Regions from separate parts of the Homo sapiens genome. Here regions 1 and 2 are each linked to region 3. Evidence: promoter capture Hi-C in human tissues and cell types (Jung and others, 2019). All regions are on one chromosome and are shown on one strand. The core of a region is centred on a gene start or on the middle of the fragment in contact, and the rest is flanking DNA. Distances in the headings are between cores, read along the strand shown. Region 1 overlaps SPPL3 (signal peptide peptidase like 3). Region 2 overlaps SPPL3 (signal peptide peptidase like 3). Region 3 holds the start of C12orf43 (chromosome 12 open reading frame 43).

Region 1 (4,480 bases), core at 1,361-3,860, 190 kb after region 3:
AGACATTATTTAATGTGAATCTTTTTAGAGAAGCTAAAGATCAAAGACCTTAGTCATTGATCCTTTGTATATACTTCTGAAAAACGAGGGTATTAAATATTCTTCTTATTGCTAAGGCCAGAGACAGCTGAGTGTCTGCTTTATGGAGCGATTTTGCAGAGACTCTTATCACTTACTAGGCTGTGTAACACTGAACAGGTTTCCCCTGGCACTGTTTGGTGGTGCTGTTTGGGCTTGCTGTTAGGTAAGCTTTAGGCCAGGTGGAGGTGATCCGTGTCAAGGGTTCTGCCTTAAGTTGTGACCTCTAACTGTCTCTGCCACATACATGAGTGCCTAAATTGGGATTTCGATGCCCAGTCAGGTATCCAGCACTGTTAGAGGGCAAGGCAGGTAGGTCTAGGTTTGAGTTTGTCATAACCCATGGAAATTTTGACTCTTGCCCTGCTTTCTTTTTTTTTTTTTTTTTTTGGAGACAGTTTCAATCTTGTTGCCCAGGCTGGAGTGCAATGGTGCAATCTCAGCTCACCGCCACCTCTGCCTCCCAGGTTCAAGCGATTCTCCTTCCTCAGCCTCCTGAGTAGCGGGGATTACAGACATGTGCCACCATGCCCGGCTAATTTTGTATTTTTAGTAGAGACAGGGTTTCTCCATGTTGGTCAGGCTGGTCTCGAACTCCCAACCTCAGGTAATCCTCCTGTCTCAGCCTCCCAAAGTGCTGGGATTACAGGCGTGAGCCACTGCGCCCGTCCTAACTCTTGCCCTGCTTTCATTCTCTTGACCAGTGAGTGTGTCACCAGAGATAGACACCCTGGACAAAGAGAGGTCCCATTAGTTCTTCTTTCAAAATATAGTTTGTGACTATAGCACCTCCTCTTTCCACTTCGTACTAACCTAGACTTGATCACCTCATGCTTAGATTATCATAAGAATCTTACTTGGTCTCCTTGATTCTAGTCTCTTCTGCCCAATTTATCTACACTGAATATTTCTGCCTGACTGATTTTCCAAAAATATTATAGACTCTTATGATTTTTACTCTACTAGTTGAATAAAAGCAATGTTTTCAGGTGACGTTAAAACTCCAGCAGCTAAAATCCTGCTAACAAACCTTGACTTCAAGTACACCATAATTTAACCCCTCTGTAAACAGAAGCTGATCTTGCAGTGAGTCTCTCTGGAATTCCATTCTTCCGTAAGACAAGCGATATTTGCTCCTGTTGATATTCCTGTGTACATGTGCCCTGTTACTAGAGAGTTAAGATCATGACCTTTATTCTTTTGGGATTTGTTTTCTCACCTCCACTCTCTTTTCTCTCTACCAAGCCAAACTCCTTTCAGGTGCTCAATAAACAGATGCTCTTTAGTGTTTCCTAACTCACAGAAAAATTTTTCTCTGAATACATCAGGTCTGTTTGATAACAAATTCAGTTAACTGAATTGGGGCTGCTTTTGCCATAATTTCCTTTTTAGTGTGTCAGGCTTGTTTTTTCAAACTAAATAATTGGCTGGATTATATAGTTTTTCAATTATTAATTTAGTAAAACTTTATTATTTTGGATTTAATGAATTAAAATTTGTGAACATTGTTCTGGATCAAACTGACATTATGTAAGTTTGGATCTGTCCTTTTTTTTTAAATGAGTTTAAGGTGTTAGTAATTAAGATTCCATTTGTGTTATAAATATAATGACTATCCAGTAGACTTAAGGTAGTGTCATATAAGGAAGGGCACACTATGAGAAAGGGACTGGGGGTGGGGGGCATGTTTACCCTTTAACATTTGTTCCATTCCATCTGCAGTTAAGCTTTCTAGAAATATGTTGTTACAGTAGCTACTTAAGTGTTTTTAAATTGTCTTTTCAAATGAATAGGGCATGGAAGTTTGTTACTCTTTTCTGTGTGAAAAACAGTGTCAAAAGTTTAAGAAGGCCAGGCAGCTTCACGCTTGTAATCCCAGCAAGTTGGGAGGCCAATGCTGAAGGATCACTTGAGTCTAGGAGTTCAAGACCAGCTTGGGTAATATGGCAAAACCCCATCTCTACAAAAATTGCAAACAAAAAAAATTAGCCTGATGTGGTGGCATGCGCCTGTCTCCCCAGCTACTTAGGAGGCTGACATGAGAGGATCACCTGAGCCCAAGGAGGTCAAGGCTGCAGTGAGCCGTGATCATGCCACTACACTCCGGCCTGGGTGACAGAGTGAGACCTTGTCTCAGAAAAAATAAAAGTTTAAGAAAACCATTGTATTTAAATTGGGCTCTTTGAAAATTAAATTCTGCTATAGAACTTACTCTGTAGTATTACTTGTTAAATTCTATATCCGACTGAAGAACACAAGCTTTTAGTATTTAGTATAAGTGAAAAATATAGCCAAATCAGACATCACTAACACTTTTTTGTCTTTTTTGCTAACGTTTCCACCAGAATCCTGTGTTCCATTAAAAAAAAATTTTAGTGTTATTTTAAAAACTCAAATAATACAGAAATGTGAAATAGTCCCATTTTTAATAAAAGTGGTTTTATGTGATACGTAGGTCTTCAGCTTGCTTCTTCCTAACAATTCTTCGTGCCATTCTTTTAAATTTCTTTGTGGGCTGGGTGCAGTGGCTCACGCCTATAATCCTAGCACTTTGGGAGGCTGAGGCGGGCAAATCACAAGGTCAGGAGATCGAGACCATCCTGGCTAACACCGTGAAACCCCATCTCTACTAAAAATAGAAAAAATTAGCTGGGCTTGGTGGCGGGCGCCTGTAGTCCCAGCTACTTGGGAGGCTGAGGCAGGAGAATGGTGTGAACCCGGGAGGCGGAGCTTGCAGTGAGCTGAGATTGCGCCACTGCACTCCAGCCTGGGCGACAGAGTGAGACTCCGTCTCAAAAAAAAAAAAATGTCTTTGTGATAGAGTGAATTATATAAAACACAATGACTATAGTAAAACAAATAGGTTAATTCACCCCACTATGTTTCTGTTTTTTCATCTGTACAAAATGGGGATCATAATGGGAAGCTCTTAGGACAGTGCTGGGCACATGACTCAGTAAAAGATTGCTGTTACAACTTGGAAAAGGGAATCATCAGCCTATATAGATGATAACCAAAGGCATGAGAGTAGACAGTATCACCCAGAGATGAGATGTGGAGTAAGAAGTAAAGAGAACTGATGACAGAGCCCTGATGGGCAGAGGAGAAGGAGAAAATACGGAGCCAGAGAGCAGGGAAGAAATCCAGTAGGATGTCGTGGGAGCTGGGATAAAATTGTTTCAAGAAAAGGAAGTGGCTACTGTTGTCAGATCCTGCAAGGGGAGCGGGGATATCAAGTAAGATATTGACTGAAGTGTTACTAGATTAAGTAACAACAAGATTGTTGATGATCTTGGGGAGAGCAAATTCCATGGAGTGCTGGGGATAGAAGGCACAGTGTGACAAGGAGATACCAGTGAAGACGGCAAATACAGCCAGATCCCTAGCTTTGGTAGCCCTATGTGAACTGGCCTTTCTTCCTTTTGTTCTCTGTCCTCCCCGCCACCGCCGCCGCCCCCCCACCCCCCACCCCCACACACACACTCTCCGTCTCTCACAGACACCTTTGTGGGAATATGCTCTAGCTCTTGCTTTTTGTCTCTTGCACGCATGATCACTCACTCTTGCTCTCTCCTCTCTAGCCCAACTGAACTGCTTGACTACTTTGTGAACTCCCAGCAGGTCGCACTGTCACATAGGCCTCCATGCTGAGTTCCTACACCTGTCTGTTTAATTTGGCAACCTGTTTACTTCTTTTTGTCTCCCTGTTAGGCAATTCTTGGTGGGTGGTAGGGGCTGAGTCTTTATCATGGAGTGCTAGTACCTAGCAGAGTCCTCATGCATGTGGTGATACATAAGATAGGACAGAACAGTGACCAGAGGTATTTATTCTAGTTGGAGCTTGTAACAGACATTAGATACTGCAAGATGATGGAGAGATTTGGTTTGATTTTTAGATGTGTTGAATTTGAGGTGACCGTGGTATATGCAGGTAGAAGTGTGCCCCCAGGGTCATTGGAGATTTGCTACTGAAATTCAGTCTGTCTAATCCCTCCTTGCTCTGGGGCTCAAGAGACTTTCCTTCTTCAATTTTTTCATCATCCCAGACAGAAACCCTAGTTTGTCCTGATAGAAGTAAGGGATGAACTGTGATTTAAACTCTTAGGCTCCTGTTTGCTTGTCCACAGAATTTGTCACTAGGAGAGGTTAGCCCCCAGGAAATAACTAAATGTCAATCTGTAGCATTCATTTTTAAAAGTCACTGGAAATTTTCTTCTTGAAGTTAGATTTTGGAATTGTAGGGATGCTTTTAAGACTTCGTTTCTAGAATCATTTCTAAAACTATTATCAGCATTAAATGGCAGGGAATAATCTTTTAATGAAACAGATACAGTAAAAACCAGTTCTTTTAGAGGTTAAGAGCAGTTTTTAAAATTTTCCTTAAGTTTTATAAAAGTTGTTA
Region 2 (4,388 bases), core at 1,299-3,798, 130 kb after region 3:
CATTGCACTCCAGCCTGGGCAACAAGAGCAAAACTCTGTCTCAAAAAAAAAAAAAAAAAAAAAAGTTTTAATGTTTGAATGACTTTACTCACAGCTTACATTTTCTAATTTGGCTGAGTCCCCATCACTTTCTGTTTACTGTACACTGAATCTCTACCTCACTCATTTATGCTGTTTACCTAGCTCCTGGAGGCAATTGAGTTGTGATCCCTTAGTAACCATAGTTGTAGGTCATTGCCTCAAGGATGGTTGAAGATAGGGATAGCTGATCAGTGCTCCAGTGACAGAGGATTAAAAAAACAACTTTTTATGGGCACTTGCATGTTTAGATACAAATACTTTAACAGGATTTGACCATTGCATTATTACTGACTATTAGATGCCTTAAGGACATGTAGTTATTCTAAGTGGTACTCACATGCTTTTGAGTTGGAGTCCATAAATGGTATTCTGACCAAGAGAACAACGATCATGACTTAATTTACATGCTATACCCTGGCATTTGTGATAATATGGACCCAGGGCCCATTTGTGAGTTCACTGATTTGTTTGAATTTGAAGGCCATGTGAAATACTTATGTGTTGTAGGTCCCGTGCACAATTATGGAATTAAAGAACACCGTAAGTGGTACTATCTTTTTAATCAGTTTATTTGGTGGTTCTGTTGAGTTTTTGTATACATTATTATTTTGATAATTTCCAAATATTTTATACTTTGACACTTGTTCATTAGCTTCATTTTTGAAATGTGTCTGAAAGCCTTAGCCTTACTAAGAAAGAAATGTCTTTTAGTTGAGTTTGAAATGCTTTGATTTGTTGGTATTACAAAGTATTAATATAAGGGTTTTTTTGTTTGTTCCCAACTGAGTGCAGTCTGCAGTGATTAAGCTCCAAATTAGTTGGACCAGTAGGGGCGGAATTGGAAGCCTTACTTACACTAAATAATGCCATTCCTTTAGGGGATAAAATCTGGTTTAGACCTCTTTGGTAACAAAACAAGACCTTAACTGAAGTTATTTCTAGTATCTATTTATTGAATAGGTGTGACTTGTCACCCACTTCACACACCATTGTTACCTTTCTGAAAGCCAAAAAAAAAAAAAAACCCAAAAAAAAAACCCAAAAAAACTCTAGCCATAATTTTGAAACATCTCCAGCCATAAGGGTGTCAGATAAGGAATTATGAAACTGTAATACCATATTTTATTGGTGAAAATATTGAAAAGTGTAGATAAACACAAAAAGAATAGAAAAACTACCCACAATTCTACCAACACAGAGAGATCTTTCATTAAATTTGTTGCATATCTTTCAGGTTTAAAAAAAATCCATATATTGTGACAGTTGGTTTTTTTTTTTTTTTAAATTATACAAGTTGTTGAAACCCAGAAATCCCAAATAGAAGTAAAAAAAGAAAAATCCTAATTACCTAATATTTAACTTACTTAGAAAATTTATGGTAACATTTCATGTTACCCTTTTGGGCATTACATATAGGAACTGTAGATCATTTTTTACACAAAAGCAGGAACAGGTTTATACTGTGCTTTCATTTTTATGTGATATTTAATGTCTACAGAAGAATATATGATTTGTATGTGTAGCATAATGAACGCTCATGAACTTCACCAGTTAAAGAAACTATAGGATTACCAATGTTCTGGAAGCCCCCTTTGTACTCTCCTTTGTCCTTCCTCATGCCTCTGTCCCCTGTCCCCGTTTAGGTGTAACCACTGTCGTGAATTTTGTTTACCATCCCTTTGCTTTTTAAAAAAACTAGATTTACATCTGCATTTTTTTTTTTTTTTTTTTGAGACATAGTTTCGCTGTTGTTGCCCACGCTGGAGTGCAGTAGCGTGATCTCAGCTCACCACAACCTCCGCCTCCTGGGTTCAAGCGATTCGCCTGCCTCAGCCTCCTGAGTAGCTGGGATTAGAGGCATGCGCCACCACGCCCGGCTAATTTTGTATTTTTAATAGAGACAGGGTTTCTCCATGTTGATCAGGCTGGTCTTGAACTCCCAACCTCAGGTGATCCACCCACCTTGGCCTCCCAAAGTGTTGGTATTACAGGCATGAGCCACCACGCCCGGCTTACGTCTACATTTTAATGTTTTACTGTACAACATGTTTTGTTTTGCTTTTTTAAATAAGTTTATAAAGATGACATATATTGTCTTTTATAATTTGTTTTTTTCAGTCAATATTTTTTCTAAGATTTGTCCCAGTTGTTGCATTCCTTTCCAGTGCTGTATAATGTTCCATCCTGTGAATATATAATCACATTATTTATCTGTTCTGATAAATATTTAGTTTCCAGTTTGAGGCTATTTCAGAGGAGTCTTGTGAACATTCTTGTATATTTTCCTGGTATTTATGTTTCAGAGTTTTCTTAGGGTTTATATACCTGGGAGTAGAATCTACCATTATCTTTTATGGTGAGTGCTTTTTGTGTCCTAAGAAATTCTTCTCTAGCCTGAAGTCTTGAAGATAGTCTCCTATATGTTCCTCTAAATAGGAATAGGTTAGAGTTCAAGCTTTGCCTTTCACATAGAAGTTTTTAATCCATCTAGAATTAAGTTTGTTTTTTGTTTGTTTGTTTGTTTTTTGAGACGGGAGTCTTGCTCTGTCGCCCAGGCTGGAGTGCAGTGGTGCGATCTCGGCTCACTGCAAGCTCTGCCTGCCAGGTTCATGCCATTCTCCTGCCTCAGCTTCCTGAATAGCTGGGATTACAGGTGCCCGCCACCACGCCTGGCTAATTTTTTTGTATTTTTAGTAGAGACGGGGTTTCGCCGTGTTAGCCAGGATGGTCTTGATCTCCTGACCTCGTGATCTGCCTGCCTCAGCCTCCCAAAGTGCTGGGATTACAGTTGTGAGCCACCACGCCCGGCCTCTAGAATTAAGTTTTATATATCTGTGTATGGATTAGTTAGGAATCCAATTGTCCCAGAACTATATGTTGATAAAATAGTCCCTGCTTTCCTCAACGATCTCTAGCATTACCTCTGTGATTGGTTTTAAAAAGCCAGGGTCTAGCTCTGTTGCCCAGGCTGGAGTGCAGTGGTGCCATCATAGTTAACTGTAACCTTGAACTCCTAGCCTCAAGCAATCTTTCGCCTTGGCTTCCCACAGCACTGGGTTTACAGATATAAGCCACTGTGCCCAGGTGGAGATTGTTTTTGTATGTGTGTTTATGAAAGTAATGTTAAAATGGTAAATAGTGTTTTGTTATATGCTTTTTAAAATTAAATATATCTTGAATGTCTTTTGATACCATTTAATATATAATCAGTTTTTGTGGATACATAGGAGACCACTGTATTCAATCTCTCTAGTTTTTATTATATCACTTTTATTCCTGATCTTCCAGTTGCCCTGTCTCAAGAAAGCTTATAACCAGTTTTCTTTCTATCTTTCTAGAAATGTGTGCATGAAAACACATGTGTATACAAAGTCCTATGCAGTACCCCTGTTATATTGCAGTAAAATACACATAGCATAAAATTGACCATTTTAAGTGTCACTGAACTCAGTGGCATTAAGTACATGCACATTATTGTGCAACCTTCACCACCATCCATTTCCAGAACTTTTTAATCTTCCCAGATTGACACTGTATACAGTAGTCCCCTCTTATCCACATCCCAAGACTCCCAGTGGATACCTTGAAACTGCCGATAGTACTGAACCCTGTATATACTGTTTATTCAATCTGATAACCAAGATGGTTATCAAATGTCAAACTGGTGGGTAGGGGTAGTGTATGTATATAGCATGAAGATGGTAGACAGAGGGATGAGTGACATCCCAGGCAGGAGGGAGCAGGATGGCATGAGACTTCATCATACTACTCAGAATGGTCCACACTTTAAAACTTACGACTTTTTTCTGGAAATTTCCATTTAATATTTTCAGACCACGGTTGACTGCATGGAAGGTGAAACCATAGATAAGTTTAATCGGAACTACTGTACCCATTAAACTTTTAACTCCTCATTCCCCTCTCTCCCCACACCCTGGCAACCTTTGTTCTCCTTTCTGTCTCTGTGAATTTGACTATGCTAGGTACCTCATATAAATGGAATCTAACAATATTTTGTTTCTTTTTTTTTTTGTTATTGGCTTTTTCACTTAGAGTAATGCCCCCCGAGCTTCATCTATATTTAGCGTGTGTCAGAATTTTCTTCCTTTTAAAGGCTGGATAATACTTGACTGTATGGGTAAGACCACATTTTGTGTATCTGTTCATTTGTTGATGGGCAGTAGTTGCTTCCACCTTTTAGTTACTATGAGTAATACAATGAATATTGGTGTACAAATATCTGTTCGAGACCCTGCTTTCAGTTCTTTTGGATATAAACCTAGAAGTGGGATTGCTCAATCTCGTAT
Region 3 (4,421 bases), core at 1,280-3,779:
AGTCCAAGTCAAGACACTGGCAGATTTGGTGTCTGGTGAGGACCTCTTCCTGATTCACAGATGGCAGCTTCTCACTAAGTCTTCACATGGTAGAAGAGGCAAAGGTGTCTCTAGGATCGCTTCTTTTTTTTTTTTTTTTTTTTTTTGAGATGGAGTCTCGCTCTGTCACCCAGGCTAGAGTGCATTGGCATGATCTCAGCTCCCTGCAACCTCTGCCTCCGAGGTTCAAGCGATTCTCCTGCCTCAGCCTCCCGAGTAGCTGGGACTACAGGCACCTACCACTGTGCCCAGCTAATTTTTTTTTTATTTTTAGTAGAGACGGGGTTTCACCATCTTGGCCAGGCTAGTCTCGAACTCCTGACCTTGTGATCCACCTGTCTTGGCCTCCCACAGTGCTGGGATTACAGTTGTGAGCCACCATGCCTGGCCTCTGGGGTCTCTTTTATGAAGGCATTGATCCAGTTCATGAGGGCTCAGGACCCATTATGTAATTGAAAGATTCTCCGTGGGGCCTGAAAGCTTAAGAGAATGAATGACCCCTCCCTCCCCTCCCTCCTTGGGCCCGGTCCCAAGGCGCAAGGCCACTCGCGCCAGCAGCATGTGTCAGCAAGATAGCAGAAGCGGGAAGAGAGCGGGCCAGAAGACACCTACCCCCTGAAGACCGAGAGAGACGTCATCCGGGTACAATGTAGCGGTTACAACAGACTGAGAAACTTCCTGTTTACAGGAGACTACAAAACCCCTGCCCCGTCCTCATTTGGTGCTGACGCCATTTTAAGCCTCAGCCCACCTGCACACACACTGCCTCATGTTGTCTGTTGGCCACGCTCTTGGGGTTCGAACCAACACAAGACCCTTTCACTAATTACTTCCCAGAGGTCCCACCTCCTAATACCATCACCTTGGGAGTAAGGACTTTTTGGAAATTATCAGTATCAAAATGGAGTCACTTATGTCAAACCCTAACAAATGCCTGTCACAAAAATTATCTCAAGAAGTTCCTAAAATCCGCAGTATTATAGATAAACCACTTGCATAAGAATATTTGCCTAACAGTGGGTGTCTCCACAATAAGCTAAAGCCAACTCCTGCAACAGGCTCCTGTGATCAACGGTACTTGTTTTAAAGAAGCTTATGTGGACTTTGTCTTTTCTCGTTGCCACAACCTCTTTTAATGTGCCTATAGTCCACTATAGCATGCATATCTCAAATTGCAATTCCTTGCAATTCTGGAATAAACGCTTTATTTTGGAGAGTCAGTCTCTCTGTTATTTATTTTATGGTGTCAATTTTAACATATGAATTTTGGAGGAACACATTCAGACCATATCAGTCACCTTCCTCTTCTTTGAAATAGAAAAAGCTCAAGGCCAGAGAGTTTATTTTAGTAAAGTTTTGACATACCTGTCTTCAAAGATAAAACATGAAACAGCATTCCACACACAAAAGTAAAGTGATTTTGTTCATCCTTCACTGTGAGGTATTTTAACCACAGAGATTCTAATTTTTTGGTCTTGGATGGGTCCTGGGAGTCAGTATTGCCTGGCTAATTTTTGTATTTTTAGTAGAGATGGGGTTTCACCATGTTGGTCAGGCTAGTCTCGAACTCCTGACCTCATGATCTGCCCGCCTCGGCCTCACAAAGTGTTGGGATTACAGATGTGAGCCACCGTGCCCGGACAGGATTCTGCATTTCTCTTTTTTTTTTTTCGAGACAGAGTCTCAGTCTGTTGCCCAGGCTGGAGTGCAGTGGCACGATCTTGGCTCACCTCAACCTCCACCTCCCAGGTTCAAGTGATTTTCCTGCCTCAGCCTCCTGAGTAGCTGGGACTACAGGTGCGTGCCACCATGCCCAGCTAATTTTTGTATTTTTAGTAGAGATGGGGTTTCACTATGTTGGCCAGGCTGGTCTCGAACTCCTGACCTTGTGATCTGCCTGCCTCAGCCCCCCAAAGTGTTGGGATTACAGGCGTGAGCCACCGTGCCCAGCCTGGATTCTGCATTTCTAACGAGCTCCCAGGTGTTACCAATGCTGCTGGCTCATGGACTACACTCTTAAGTAGTAAGGCCCTAGGCTATTAAAGGAAATACAGATTCCTGGATTCCACCTATCAGAGATTCTGATTCTGTTAGTATTTTCTGTGAGACCCAAAAGTCTGCAGTTTAACCAGCTCTCTAAGGTGTTTCTTAGGCCCAGCTGGACTGGGAAATTACTAGAATAAATGACATGGAATCAAAACCTGGGAACTAATCCTGGGTCTGTCATTAACTCCTTAGGAGATTCCCATCCCCTCTGGAGATCTGTCATCAAGAAATGATTGGAGAAGTTAATCTCTTAGGCCCTTCTAGCTCTTGCCTTTGAGAACCGCCCACCTCCCCATTCCCACCTGGTATCCCCAACCCAGTACAGTTCATGGCCAATGGCGGTCCAAGTCTTGGAACTACAATCCCCACAATGCCTCGCGCCTCTCCTCTCACGTGACGTCATGAAGGAGGCTTGATAACGGCGGTGTTCTCCACAATCCTTTGCGGTGGTTCAAGATGGCGGCGCCCAGTGGCACAGTGAGCGATTCGGAAAGTAGTAACAGCAGTAGCGATGCGGAGGAGCTGGAGCGGTGCCGCGAGGCGGCAATGCCGGCTTGGGGCTTGGAGCAACGCCCGCACGTGGCAGGGAAGCCAAGAGCCGGTAGGGTACTATGTTTGGGGAGACTGGCTGAGGGGCGTGGGATCTTCCCCTGGAGCCTGAGAGGATGGATGGTGAGGAGAGAGTCACTGGGACTCGGCTTCCTTCCCCGAGAGACCTCCAGGGACTGGGTGTAGTGCAGATTGAAAGCATGGGCAGGTGCAGTAGGGAGGGTATTTCATTATTCCAGTCGGGGAAGCTGAGGTACCCAAATGTCTTTTGATTCTGCCTCCTTGGGTCTATCCTCACTGCCCCACACTGGGAAGGCTGCCGTCTCTTCGAGATAACTGCAACAGCCCCCTCCCGGTATTCTCGCACCCAGCCTTTCCCCACCTCCAACACATTCTCCCACCCTGGAGGTTGTTGCCAAGAGCAGTGCCCAGCACATCACTCTGACCGTGACTCCCTAGTGCCCTGGGAATAAATACAGAGCCCCGCAACATCAAGGGGCCTAATCATGGATAGAACCCAAGGGTTCTTGAATTTGGAATGAAAACATGTTGCATCTTTGCTTTCTATTCATCTCTGACTGAATTTTAGCATCTCTTTCCGTCTTGCAAGCACTAAGCCACAGTAGTTCTGGCAATGCCGTTACTTTATCCCAACAGAAGTCACAGATTTTCATATCTCATTACAATCTTTGCAGATACAGATATCAATATATCATTTTATTGATAAAAAGATATTGGGGAAAAAAGTCATTTACACTCATCCCTGATTTAAAATGTGCCACTCTAATTTTTAGACCCATCTCTATATCTAAGATGTAAGAAGCACATACATCACAAGTTTGGTTGTTTACTATCATGATAATTAAATTTCGGTATCATTGGTTTTCTTTGTAATCCTGTATGTTGCATTTCATGCATTTAAAACATTGCTCTGAGAAGAGAACCGGGCTTCACCAGGCTGTTAGAGAAGGCTATGGCAAAGCAAGGTTAAGAACCGCTGGATTTGTTTAAAAGGACTTACAAGCCCTTTGGTGATCCATTGCCTTCCTCTCCCTTCCTTCCCTCCTGCCATACTGCACTTCCTGTAGGTAGCTTCCAGACCATAGTCTGCCCCTCTCACCCCCTAGTACCATAACCACAGTTTTCTCTGCAAGTTCTATTTACAGATCTGCCTTTCCATCTCATTAGCGGTGGGAACTTGAGCAAAGTACTTAAATCTCACTGTACCTAAATTTCCTCATCTGTACAGTGCGGGTAGTGATAGTACCCACCCCATAAGGTTGAGAAGTAACTGAGATAATGCAATCTACAGTGCTTGGCACATCTTAAAGGCCCAATACATGGTGGCAAATATGTGGTTGGTCTTTCCACATGGACTGCTTTCCTCCTCCTGCCTAATTCTCGCTCTTTTTTTTTTCAAAACTAGGACTCAGTCTGTTACCGAGGCTGACACAATCATGGCTCACTGCAACCTCGACCTCCCCCTACTCAGATGATCCTCCCACCTCAGCCTCCCAAGTAGCTGAGACTACAGATGTATAGTCCCAGCTACTTTTTGTATTTTTTGTAGAGATGGGGTTTTGCCATGTTGCCCAGGCTGGTCTCGAACTCCTGGGCTCAAGTGATCCTCCCTTCTCAACCTTCAAAGTGCTGAGATTACAGGTGTGAGCCACTGTGCTCGGCTTCTAGTTTTTTTTGTTTGTTTGTTTGTTTTTTGGGGTTTTTTTTTTTTTTTTGCATTTTTTTTTTTTGAGATGGAGTTTCACTCTTGTTGCCCAGGCTGCAGT

What was found. The method cuts DNA at HindIII sites, captures the fragments that hold promoters and counts their contacts. A contact is called where the count stands out against the background at its distance.
Region 1: a contact is called between a fragment that was not itself captured here and the fragment with the promoter of C12orf43 in region 3, in 1 of the 25 tissues and cell types used here (aorta).
Region 2: a contact is called between a fragment that was not itself captured here and the fragment with the promoter of C12orf43 in region 3, in 1 of the 25 tissues and cell types used here (mesenchymal stem cells).

Annotation. Positions count from the first base shown.
Region 1 is chr12:120,822,281-120,826,760 of GRCh38, reverse strand. All of the region lies in intron 1 of SPPL3 (signal peptide peptidase like 3), which reads left to right. Among named protein-coding and RNA genes, the nearest start is that of SPPL3, 80 kb to the left of the region's middle. RefSeq lists an enhancer at 3,804-3,873. The HindIII fragment of the contact is 3,166 bases long and covers 1,028-4,193 here.
Region 2 is chr12:120,881,526-120,885,913 of GRCh38, reverse strand. The region is part of intron 1 of SPPL3 (signal peptide peptidase like 3); the gene reads left to right. Among named protein-coding and RNA genes, the nearest start is that of SPPL3, 21 kb to the left of the region's middle. The HindIII fragment of the contact is 4,130 bases long and covers 484-4,388 here.
Region 3 is chr12:121,014,595-121,019,015 of GRCh38, reverse strand. It overlaps C12orf43 (chromosome 12 open reading frame 43), which reads left to right and starts at 2,529. Exons shown (of 6, transcript NM_022895.3): 1 at 2,529-2,686. The coding sequence starts at 2,542. It also overlaps a transcript of OASL not described here. RefSeq lists a silencer at 2,433-2,626 and enhancers at 2,354-2,863, 2,835-3,350. The HindIII fragment of the contact is 5,444 bases long and covers 826-4,421 here.